2 separate regions of the Homo sapiens genome follow, and region 1 is linked to region 2. Evidence: promoter capture Hi-C in human tissues and cell types (Jung and others, 2019). All regions are on one chromosome and are shown on one strand. The core of a region is centred on a gene start or on the middle of the fragment in contact, and the rest is flanking DNA. Distances in the headings are between cores, read along the strand shown.

Region 1 (5,758 bases), core at 1,296-3,795, 89 kb before region 2:
AAATAAGTTCTGAACAAACCTTTCCTGCCATGCTACATTCATTACCTTATGAGTCCACTCTGTATTCTGTTCAGGTGTATCCAGGTAATAATGATCATTTATCTGGAGGCACGGTCTTTGTCATACATTACGGAAGAATCCAGAGATTTAATCACAGTTCAAGCCATGTTAAAGATGTCCTCTACAGTCATATTGTTGATATTATATAGCTCTCATCTGGGTGCAGCCATATTTGTTCCTTCTGTTTCTGATAGGTTGTCCCTTTAATCTACGTGACTGTGTGTGGGTGTCTGTGTCTGTGTGTGTCTGCTTGATACGAGCTGAACCCTGACTGACACACATCATTTCTGTCTTTCACATCTCTCTTGAGGTCACATGCTAGAGGTGGAAGACTTATAATTCAGGACTATAATTCCAAATCGCCATTAACTTGTATTGTCGGATAATCTACAGTCTATCTGGCTAACATGCACCAGATGGTTTACAAGCAGCCTTGTGTCACAATAGTGTGGTTCTAAGAACCACAAAACTCAAAATGAGCTGACGAAATTAGAAGCATGGCAGCACATAAAAAATCTTTGAAATTAAAATGCTTCCCTCATTTTTGAAATAAAAACAGGGACACCGATCAAGTCATTCCCACGCCAGTGAAAGCTTCTTGTGACAGCTCTGGGGAAAGTGGCTGCATGGAGTTCTCCAGGGTGGCTCCCAGCAGTGCCTAGAATGTAGTGTGTACACAGACATCTCTCTCAGAGAAAGCTGTGGGGAACTCTCAGTCCCTTAGAAGGGAGGGGGAAATTTAATCTCTTCTAACATGAGGCTGAAGAGTCAATCCAAACCATAGGTAAAATGCAAACATGTCCCTATGTATGAGCTTTACTGCTGTTTTCAAGTTTTGATTTAGGGCAGTTGACAGAAACAACAACGACAGCTGAGGAAATATTTATGAATGATGAGGTGACCTAATAAGACTACAAGAACATTTTGGTTTCTGAGGTAAATATTTTAAAACTATTTTTGAGAAAAAGAACTAATTTAATGTGTCTCCTTCAGCTGAACAGTAAATATGATTTCATTCAGCTTTTGTCACGTATTTATAAAAATCAATTCTGAAGTTAACTGCATTAATTTAAAATGATAACAATTTGTAAAAAAGAAATGCTCTGGAAATGCAAAACCACTTTCAACAAAAACAAAGTATGGTTTAAACAGAAGTCAATGGTAGGTCCAATGACCCCTGCTCCTGCTCCAGAAAGTTCTTGAACAATGGAGTGCTGAGTAAAGAAACTAGCTTGGTCTTACAAGAGAGTTAAGCAGCACCTAGACTTGAAACTCAAACGAGAAGCTTTTGCAGTGGATTTGGACCCAGGGAACTTCCCCAGATACTCCAAAAGGATGAGACAATGCCTCTCTTTTAAAGGACCTGGGTTATTCTTAATTTGTTGAAGGTCCTTTAAGGCTTGTAATTCTGTGGTTGGAGCAAGAATCATTAGACAACCCTGAGCTATCATGTCGAAGGTGCCTGAGAAGCTGCAGCATCCCATGACCCTCAGTCAAGGTTGCAAAAACTGCTGGTGTCTGCCTTGAGTTATCAGCCTCTACTGTGACCCTCCTGCTTAGCCTGAGCACCTCTTCAGCATATCTGCCTTGTGTTGACTTTCATCTAATTGATAATGATTGCCTACACCAAGTTAGGTTCAGAGCATGTATTCTGGACTGTTGAAAGCACACAAAACACTTATTATCACTGTCAAAGATCTCTCCAATCTTTTGATCAGATGAGGTTCTAGTCCAGCATCCATACCAGGTGAATTAAATAGCCACATAATTCATAGTGGAGGGAATCCTGCCATATGAAAGAGTTTTTAAAAAATCCTCCAGAGAGCAAAAGATAACATACCAATTTTAGGAAAAAAAACAACAACTCTGACTCAGCCACACGGACCTACTCAGAACCATGGGCAAGCTTTCTCTATGTTCTTGACCTTTTAGTAAACAACTGCATTTATTATCTTGTATTTTATTGCTACATAAGTGCCACACATAGGATTGGTGAAAACAAGGTCTGTTCTTTCTGTGCAAAGTAGATAAGGAGACTGAATACTGAGAAATGACTAAGTTTAGAGAAAAACTGGAGCATGAACCATTTTACAGCTTCAGGGTGAGTTATGTTTTATATCCAAGTAAAATAGAATACATGCCTGATTTGCACTTATTATCTTACTGTAAACATTGGGATTTTTCAAGTCTGAAAAGACCCTTGAAAATGCAAAGGTTAACGTCTTCCCCAGGAATATTCGAAAGCTATTTTGAAATTCCCCACTTGAGTGTGGGCCATGAACTAGTTTGATATGTTTGATATGTTTGGACAGACCTTTAATTGGAATGCTCTGCTCTGAAAATGAAAAATATTTAAGTTATTACCTAGTGTGAGTTCCTACCATGCTATACTGGCAGTTCCTGGAAACATTTCTGACAGACAGGGAAAAGGGTTTCTGACATAATCCATTGTAACCTGAATGAAATGGAGAAACACATCCTGTTTGAGATCTAGCTTTTGATCAAGCCACAGGTCCTTAATGCAGGTGAAGTCCTTTTGGGGTTGACCTTAGCTGTTCCATCCGTTTCTTTTGCTGGCAACAGAGTAATAAATTACTTACTGAAATAGAGCTTGTGACAGATTCCCAGTTGGTCTCTGAAGCTGCTGCGGGTTGGAAATCTTCCTGGAAGGCAAAGAAACATCTGTGAGTCAGTCAAACCTCTGTTCAATTCATTATGTGCACAGTTTCAACATCTCAGCCTTCTGAATCTTTTTCCAACTAAGTGACAACAGACATAGGGCTATATTCCTGCTGAACAGGTCACCATTTGTCTTAAGCACATCTCCTCAAGAACCCTTCTCATTTAAGACATGGACATTTTCTTGTAAGTACTGGTGAAATGGAAAAGGCACAGGAAGGAATGCAAATTTTAACTTGGCCATCTACTGGCTGTGTGACCACAGACAACTGACAACCCCTCCAGTCCTTCCTTTCCTCAGCTAGTATGGAATCCTTACATTATAGGGCTGTTTTAAGAATTAAATGCATTAATTATGTAATTACCAATGGCACTGAATAAAGTGTTTGATAAAGAATAATAATAATTATCATTATTGACATATAGTTGGTTTAAACTAGGTTACGCATTATGTTCAATCTTGCCTGCTGACCTGGTCCAAAATATTGGTGATCTTTTCAACGATACACTAACTTCCAAGGGGTTGTTCCTGACTATATCAACAAATATAAGGAAGGATGGCAGGGGAAGAAAATGACTGGTAGTGACTAAGTACTGCCCATTTGGGGAAGGAAGGTCAAGGGCAGACTTGAAAACATTAGTTATCTCAGATAAGCCTTAGTGGATGTGTGATAGCAATAGATCACACAGAAAAAACTTCTCTTAAAAGGCAAACTTGTCTCCCATTTGTATGTGACCTCCATGTTAATTACTACAGCACCAGGAAGTTTAAAAAACATTAAGGGAAGGAAAACTAATTCTGTCATTTTTACAATCCACAGATGGCTTTCTGACCTTGCTAAAATAAATCACTTTAGCAAATATTTTCCAGCCTTACCGAGGAGTGGGAGGTGTTTTGAGAGGATGCTGAGAAATGTTCAGCCACTCTAGTCTGACAGCTTATTTATCCAAGTATACCTACTGAATGAGAGCTTAGTATCAGGTGTAAATTTCATTAACATTTTGAGGAGCTGGAAGTACATTTGTTAATTGGTTATGATGAGGCTGGTTTATATATAAATTTCCTGTGTTTAATAAAATTTCAGCTGATTACTGAGAGAGAACCGAGTCAAATGCGGGGTTCAAAAAATGAACAAATATTAGAAACTGACTAGATGATGGGTTGATAGGTGCAACAAACCACCATGTATCCCAGAACTTAAAGTAAAAAAAGAAAGAAAGAAAGAAACCGACTAGACATCATTATTTTAGTCACTTTTTTTTTTTTTTTTTTTTTTTTTGAGACCGAGTCTCACTCTGTCACCCAGGCTGGTGTGCAGTGGCGTGATCTTGGCTTACTGCAACCTCTGCCTCCCAGGTTCAAGCAATTCTCCTGCCTCAGCCTTCCTAGTAGCTGAGATTACAGGTGTGCACCACCACACCCAGCTAATTTTTGTATTTTTAGTAGAGATGGAGTTTCACCATGTTGGCCAGACTGGTCTTGAACTATTGACCTCAGGTGATCTACCCACCTCGGCCCCCCAAAGTGCTGGGATTACAGGCATGAGCCACTGGGCCCGGCCTCGTTATTCTAATCTTAATCCTAGGGAAGATAGAAAAGAAGCAGGAAATGTGGTATCTGCACTCTGCAAAACAGAATAGACACTAAAAGGACACTGAATTCCCACAGCGGGAAGATGTGTATAATCAAATGAAGGCTGGCATTTATATGAGTCTTCATAAGTCGGTGAGCACATAAGACTAGGCAAGAAGCCAGAGAGCCAGTGGCTTCTCCATTCCTTGATGAGACTATTGGTGGAGGACATATGCCAGGTATGGTAATGACAGGAGCAATCCTCACATTACAGAATTTTCATTTTCCCTTGTTCATTCAATATTTGTTAATCACCTGCTATTAATACTTTCTGAGCTGTGGGTAGGATCATGAGGAAATAAAAACTATCCCTACCCTCAAGGAATTCGAAACGTAAACACACAAATAAACACGTGCAGTAAACGCATGTGGGTGCTCTGATACCAGTCTACTCAGCATGCCATGGAAGGTAGTAATAGGTGGTTGTACCTGGGGAGAAAGTGGGCTTGAAAAAATTTCACATAGGAAGCTGATTTGTTAGTAGAGTCTTGGAAGATAAATAGTTGCTTCTTGCAGAAAACGCGGGTAGAAGACTCAAAGGGAAAGCAATGCTTAGACAAGGTGAGGAAAGTATACAGAAAAATAAACAACTTACTGGGGAAACTATGAGTCATGTTGGGCATAGTGCGTTTGAGAAGCCTACACTATGTACAGATGGAGATGTTCGGGGGGAAGTTTGCTACATGAGAATGGACCGCATGAGAGAGAATGGACCACATGTGACCTTGAGATATAGATTTGGGAAGTATCAACACAAAAATGCAATTCAACAAAGTAAAGGGTTATGTTGACCATGTGTTAAAATCAGAAGAGGGACAGTTTTAAAATCTTGGAACTGGAAATAGTTTTAGAATTATCTAGTCCAATCTCCTTATTTAAACAATAAGGAAACTGGCCAGGAGTGGTGGCTCACGCTTGTAATCCCAGCACTTTGGGAGGCCAAGGCAGGTGGATCACTTGAGGTCAGGAGTTCAAGACCAGCCTGGCCAACATGGTGAAAACTCATCTCTACTAATAATACAAAAAAAAAAAAAAAAAAAATTAGCCAGGTGTGGTGGCATGTACCTGTAATCCCAGTTACTCAGGAGGCTGAGGCAGGAGAATTTTTAAACCTGGGAGGCGGAGGTTGCAGTGGGCCAAGATTGCACCATTGCACTCCAGCCTTGGCAACAAGAGCGAAACTCTGTCTCAAAAGAAAAAATAAATAAATAAATAAATAAATAAGAAAATGAATGCTTAGAGAGATAGATGATGTGTTCTGTATCATGTACCCATTTTCTGGCAAAGCTAAGGCCACCAAAGCTCATTTCTAAGTAGAAACTGTGTGGTTGGTGACCTTCCACAGTGTTACAGCTGCCTTGGATAATGTGTGTATGGGGAGAAAAA
Region 2 (6,184 bases), core at 1,246-3,745:
TCTTCTTCATCTCTTCTTCAGATATTATTAATTTCTCCTGAATACCACTACTGTGGTATTTTTTACCCTTCAATTTGTGTGTGTGCATGTGCTCTAATTTAGACTGTGAGCTCCTTTAAGAATACAGCCTATATTTAACATTATTCACGTCTGTTTCCCTAGAACTTAGCACATGCTTCACATACACTGGGCGTTCAGTCAACATTTCTAATATAAGCAAATATGAGTATAGAAACATTATGATAATTAGAGCAGTGAGCGAGACATAGTCTTCCATCTGAGACAAATACATGAGAAACAGGAGCCAAAAAATAATTATTTAGGCTGATGTGACTTCCTTCTCTCCATAATGGAATAATGGTGTAACAGTGCAGGCCTTCTAACAACCCTTCAAAGAAGGGGGTGAAACTAGGCAGAGGATATCGACTATCTTGGTTCATAAGTAGGTACACCTGGGAGTACCAAGCCAGGGAAACATGAGCTCTGCACAGTGCAAAACACTTTTTTTTTTTTTTTGAGATGGAGTCTCGCTCTGTCACCCAGGCTGGAGTGCACTGGCGCAATCTCGGCTTACTGCAAGCTCCACCTCCAAGGTTCATGCCATTCTCCTGCCTCAGCCTCCCGAGTAGCTGGGACTACAGGCGCCCACCACAACGCCTGGCTAATTTTTTGTATTTTTAGTAGAGACAGGGTTTCACCATGTTAGCCAGGATGGTCTCGATCTCCTGACCTCTTGATCCGCCCACCCTGGCCTCCCAAACTGCTGGGATTACAGGCATGAGCCACCGCGCCAGGCAGCAAAACACTTTATTAAACATAGAGAAAAATAACTGGCATGCAAGGATTTCTACCCAATCATCATTTGCCTTGAAGGACTTTTCACCATGACAGCCTTGTATGTGTGTGTGTGTAAGTGGGGGTGGGGGAGAGTAGGGAGAAGGTGGCTGTGCCCAAATGTCAGAGAGAGGCATATTGGCCTCTAGGGTGGCATCCTTAATGAATTTTCCTACAGAACTGATGTCAAATGGGTCACCTCAAAGGTTCATCTCACTCATTCATTCATTCCCCTTCAAGGCAATGGCCCATCTACCCTATATCCCATTTTAGAGACCCTCTGTGTTATCCACACATTCCACTTTTTTACACTCCCCACCTCCAAGGGGTATGCACACTCTGTCCATTTTACTCAAGAAACATGTTTATTCTCTACTGCTTTGGCTTTGGGCCTCCTGACTTTCCACACTCTAGCAACAGCTCCCTCTTTGAACCACTGGAAAAGCCTCCTGACTGGCCCTCCTGCCACATTATGTCCTCCATGTGTTGCAAGAAGCCTCTTCCTTAAGTCAATTTAAAAAAAAAAATCACAAACACCTGCTTCAAATCTTTTCCCTTTCCTTTCCTTCCTTACTTCTTTTTCTTTTTTTTTTTTTTTTTTTTTGGAGGAGGAATTCTTGCTAATTGATAATATTTAATATTTAAACTCCGTAGATTCACATATGACTTCATCAATTGGCTCAACTAATTTTTTTCCAGCTTCATATCCTGGTATTCAAAGTCATGTACAATTTTTTTATTGCACAAAATGTCTCATCTTTCTCTAGAAATAACAGCCCTTGCCATAAATTCCTGCTTTTGTAACATGAAACTGCTTTCCTTTGGAGTGAGACCACTTTGCACCTGGAAGATGCTCATCCTTCAACATCCAGCTTGTCTCCTCCTTAGGAAAATATCCTCTGTTCTGTTGGTGATACTAAAGGCAGTACCCTGAACATGTCTTTGTAAAAGATTTTGCCTTTAGTATTGTGATTACCCATTCACCTGTCTATCCCTTTCCAGAAATGTGAGCTCCTCAAGGGCAGGCTCCAAATCTGACTTTCCTACTATGCACATAGAATGGTACTTGCCATGTAAGAAACAAATCCTTACTGTTTGGGGAAAAAACAAAAGTACAAAGAATACAACTCTAAAATGAACAAAACAAATGATAATATGCTGTTTAGAAAGTGTTGAAAAACTAGGCATGGTGGCTCACACCTGTAATTCCAGCACTTTGGGAGGCCGAAGTGTGGGGGATTGCTTGAGCCCAGGAGTTGGAGGCCAGCCCGGACAACACAGTGAGACCCCAAATCTATTAAAAAAAAATACAACAATTAGCCGGGCATGGTAGACTGTGCCTGTAGTTCCAGCTTTTCAGGAGGCTGAGAGAGGAGGACTGCTTGAGCCTACGAGGTCGAGGCTACAGTGAGCTGTGATTATGCCACTGTACTCCAGCCTGGGTGACAGGATAAGATCCTGTCTCAAAAAAAAATGTGTTGAAATCATTTCTTTCATATCATGTGTTAAATAGGCTTTGAAGGGCTGGCCTTGAAACCTGACAGCTTTGAGCCATCGTGTATCCATGGGAGTAGGCATTCTAGGTTCCAAACAGCACACTTAGAAATGGACTTTGGAACACAACGTGCTACCTCAAGGCTCCACCTGGCCACACAGCAGGCACTGAGGCTGGGAGACAGCCCCCAGACAGATGAGTGTCCGCGCCTCTCTGAGAGGTGAATGAGCCCGGACGGTCCCTACCTACCAAGTCCTGAGGAGCAGCGGCACCAACGACGCAGGCCCGCCCCAGCCCGCCAGTGAGCCGCCCATGCCCTCTGCTAGCCCGGCCCGCCCGGGCCCCCGCCATGCTGATCACCGTGTACTGCGTGCGGAGGGACCTCTCCGAGGTCACCTTCTCTCTCCAGGTCAGCCCCGACTTTGAGCTCCGAAACTTCAAGGTCCTCTGCGAAGCGGAGTCCAGAGTCCCCGTCGAAGAGATCCAGATCATCCACATGGAGCGACTCCTCATCGAGGACCACTGTTCCCTGGGCTCCTACGGCCTCAAAGATGGCGATATCGTGGTTTTACTGCAGAAGGACAATGTGGGACCTCGGGCTCCAGGGCGTGCCCCGAACCAGCCTCGTGTAGACTTCAGTGGCATTGCGGTGCCTGGGACGTCCAGCTCCCGTCCACAGCACCCTGGACAGCAGCAGCAGCGCACACCCGCTGCCCAGCGGTCACAGGGCTTGGCGTCAGGAGAGAAGGTGGCCGGCCTGCAAGGTCTGGGCAGCCCCGCCCTGATCCGCAGCATGCTGCTCTCCAACCCCCACGATCTGTCCCTGCTCAAGGAACGCAACCCTCCCTTGGCGGAAGCCCTGCTCAGCGGAAGCCTTGAGACCTTTTCTCAGGTGCTGATGGAGCAGCAAAGGGAAAAGGCCTTGAGAGAGCAAGAGAGGCTTCGTCTCTACACAGCCGACCCACTGGATCGGGAAGCTCAGGCCAAAATAGAAGAGGAAATCCGGCAGCAAAACATTGAAGAAAACATGAATATAGCGATAGAAGAGGCCCCCGAGAGTTTTGGACAAGTGACGATGCTCTACATTAACTGCAAAGTGAATGGGCATCCTTTGAAGGCTTTTGTTGACTCGGGCGCCCAGATGACCATTATGAGCCAGGCTTGTGCCGAGCGATGTAACATCATGAGGCTGGTGGACCGACGGTGGGCTGGGGTTGCTAAAGGAGTGGGCACACAGAGAATTATTGGCCGTGTTCATCTAGCTCAGATTCAAATTGAAGGTGATTTCTTACAGTGCTCTTTCTCCATACTTGAGGATCAACCCATGGATATGCTTCTAGGCCTAGATATGCTCCGGAGACATCAATGTTCCATCGATTTGAAGAAAAATGTGCTGGTCATCGGCACCACTGGCACGCAGACTTATTTTCTTCCTGAGGGAGAGTTGCCCTTATGCTCTAGGATGGTAAGTGGGCAAGATGAGTCTTCGGACAAGGAAATTACACATTCAGTCATGGATTCAGGACGAAAAGAGCATTAAAGCACGTTATAAATATGTTACCACCTTGAGGGAGCCTCAGGTCCCCGGCAATTATAAGTTAAGAGCTTACTGGCAATGTAATCATTAAAAAACATCAGTAACAACTAAACCTGGCCTTGGGACTACGTTCTCAGATGGGTAACTAACGTCAATCCTGATTCCTTGGTCTTGGTCCCTCTTCCATTTCCCTTGTCCAGAGATCACTGAAAGGCATCCTGGGAAGGCTCTGGAGGCTCCAGCTGATTTCCAGATAATCCATGAAAAAGAAAACCAGCTTCTTCCTTTAGAGACACTATCCTATCAGATTACAGGTGGCTTATCCAAATCATTGCTATTTTGCAGAATTCCCTGGAAAAATGCTATGGCTGCAGACCTTACAAGGCATCCACATAAAACTATTTCACATCAGCACTAATAATTCTTTCTACTGAGAGAAATATGCCCATTTTCACAGGTTTTGTTTTCTTTGGGAAGGGTATTAGAAATGGTAGGTCAGTTACACTATGATGTTAACTAATACTTATACATGTCTGTTTGGGGCAGCATAAAGACCAATTTCCTCATATTTACACCTTCCCTTCCCCTGGATCCCCTGCAGTCACCCTGCAATCCACAGCTAAAGACTATTTTTGCCATATTTGAGAAAGTGGATTTATCTCCAAGGATGCTACATTAATTTTCTATTTCTCCTGCATTCAAAGAAACTCTGGCTATAAAACAAAGGCAATAAATTAGATTTTTTAAAAAAGAAATTATGGTACTTCTTGGGAGTCAAGTTGTACAGTGGTGGGAATGAGAGGTGGGGACAGGCAGTGGTCCAGGTTCTCTAATAGTCATTGCAACTAGATCATCTCTCTCTCTTTTTCAAAGTAAAAATCTGCTTTATACATTAAGCTGCTGCTACATCAGTATTGTTTGAACAAAGGTTTTCACTGTTAAAATAACATTTGAAAACTTTTGAATGAGAAGATCTCTAAGGCCTCATTCAGAATTATCCATTCTGACAATGTTAGTGTTTATTACAACTGACAGTGGGTAATGGAAGATCCTAGACTTAATTACAACCCATGGCTAAAGCACCTGAGAGAAAAGTTTCAGCTTCCTGAGGCCATCAGATGCAGGGGAAATGTTTCAGGACAATAATTTATCAAAACTAGTATTAAAACAGCGGATTCAAAATCAAGATGTGTATGTTTTGATTACACTTAATTACTTAGACAAATTAGTTCACCTACTTTACAACTGAGATTCCTCACCTAATAATTTTTTTTTTCCTGGGAGGGGTCACTTTTCAAGCACTAAAACCTCATTATCTTAAAGGATCTGGGATATCCTTTAAGTTATTCTATTTTCCCGACAAGATATAAAGCCACATAAAGCATTCCCAAAGGATACAGAAAAAAATAACTCTCCCTTATAATCTCCATATACTTTTTGTTTTGCTTCTTGGTAATACTAATCAACCTTTCTAAAGAGAGTCACCTCTTCCTTTCTAGCCACCATCAGTTCACCTCCCATTTTTCTTCTCTATAGGTGTTCCCATGCTCACATTTCCCAGTCTGGTCTACATTTGCACAAAGTTTTATACCCAGTAGAACTACTAAAAATGATCAAATGAACAGATTTCTTTCCTACTTTTGTTTGTAATTAAGAACTCAAAACAAATGCAATTAACAAAAAAAGACATTCAGAGTAAAGTCAGGGATAAGCAAAATGCTTATGAATAAATTTAAATTGCCCTGATAAATTCATGGATTATCTCACTGACAAAAATATGCAAAGTCCTCAGCATCTTCTGAATTCAATTTTAAGGTTCATTTATGAAAAAAAGGTCTTATTTGCATATATCACATGGGACTCCTCAGGGTGTCTGACCCTTTAAAGTTAGCCACAGAATTTTTAAGATAAAAGACAGTTCACATGATACCAAATCTGACCATACCCACCCTACCTTCTCAGAGGAACACCCCTTCTGAGGTAGCTATAATGTTTTGAGACAAATCTCAGGTATAATTATTTGTTTCTTATTTTGAGCTGAAATCTACTGTCCCATAACTTCCAGTAAGTTGGTCTTCATTCTTCCTTCTGCCAAGACCACATTTAATCTTTCTGGCATGAGATAAACTTTTTAATATATGAAATGAGTATCAGCCCACATATTCATTTTTAGACTTCAGTAGGTTTTCACCAGATTCTTTAACTGTTCCTCATAGGACAAATTTGGATTCTCCTAAAAATTTCACGTTTCTTTGGCCATATTCCAAATCCTAAAAACATGATTTGAGTGAATGAATGAATAAATTAAAATCATCTAT

The links. The method cuts DNA at HindIII sites, captures the fragments that hold promoters and counts their contacts. A contact is called where the count stands out against the background at its distance.
Region 1: a fragment that was not itself captured here is called in contact with the fragment with the promoter of DDI1 in region 2 in 2 of the 25 tissues and cell types used here (spleen and stomach).

The regions. Positions count from the first base shown.
Region 1 is chr11:103,945,002-103,950,759 of GRCh38, forward strand. PDGFD (platelet derived growth factor D) reads right to left here. Exons shown (of 7, transcript NM_025208.5): 4 at 2,661-2,723. Among named protein-coding and RNA genes, the nearest start is that of PDGFDDN, 41 kb to the left of the region's middle. The HindIII fragment of the contact is 3,092 bases long and covers 1,000-4,091 here.
Region 2 is chr11:104,034,145-104,040,328 of GRCh38, forward strand. DDI1 (DDI proteasomal shuttling factor 1) reads left to right here and starts at 2,496. Exons shown (of 1, transcript NM_001001711.3): 1 at 2,496-5,052. The coding sequence starts at 2,679. The coding sequence ends at 3,869. All of the region lies in intron 1 of PDGFD (platelet derived growth factor D), which reads right to left. The HindIII fragment of the contact is 14,414 bases long and covers 1-6,184 here.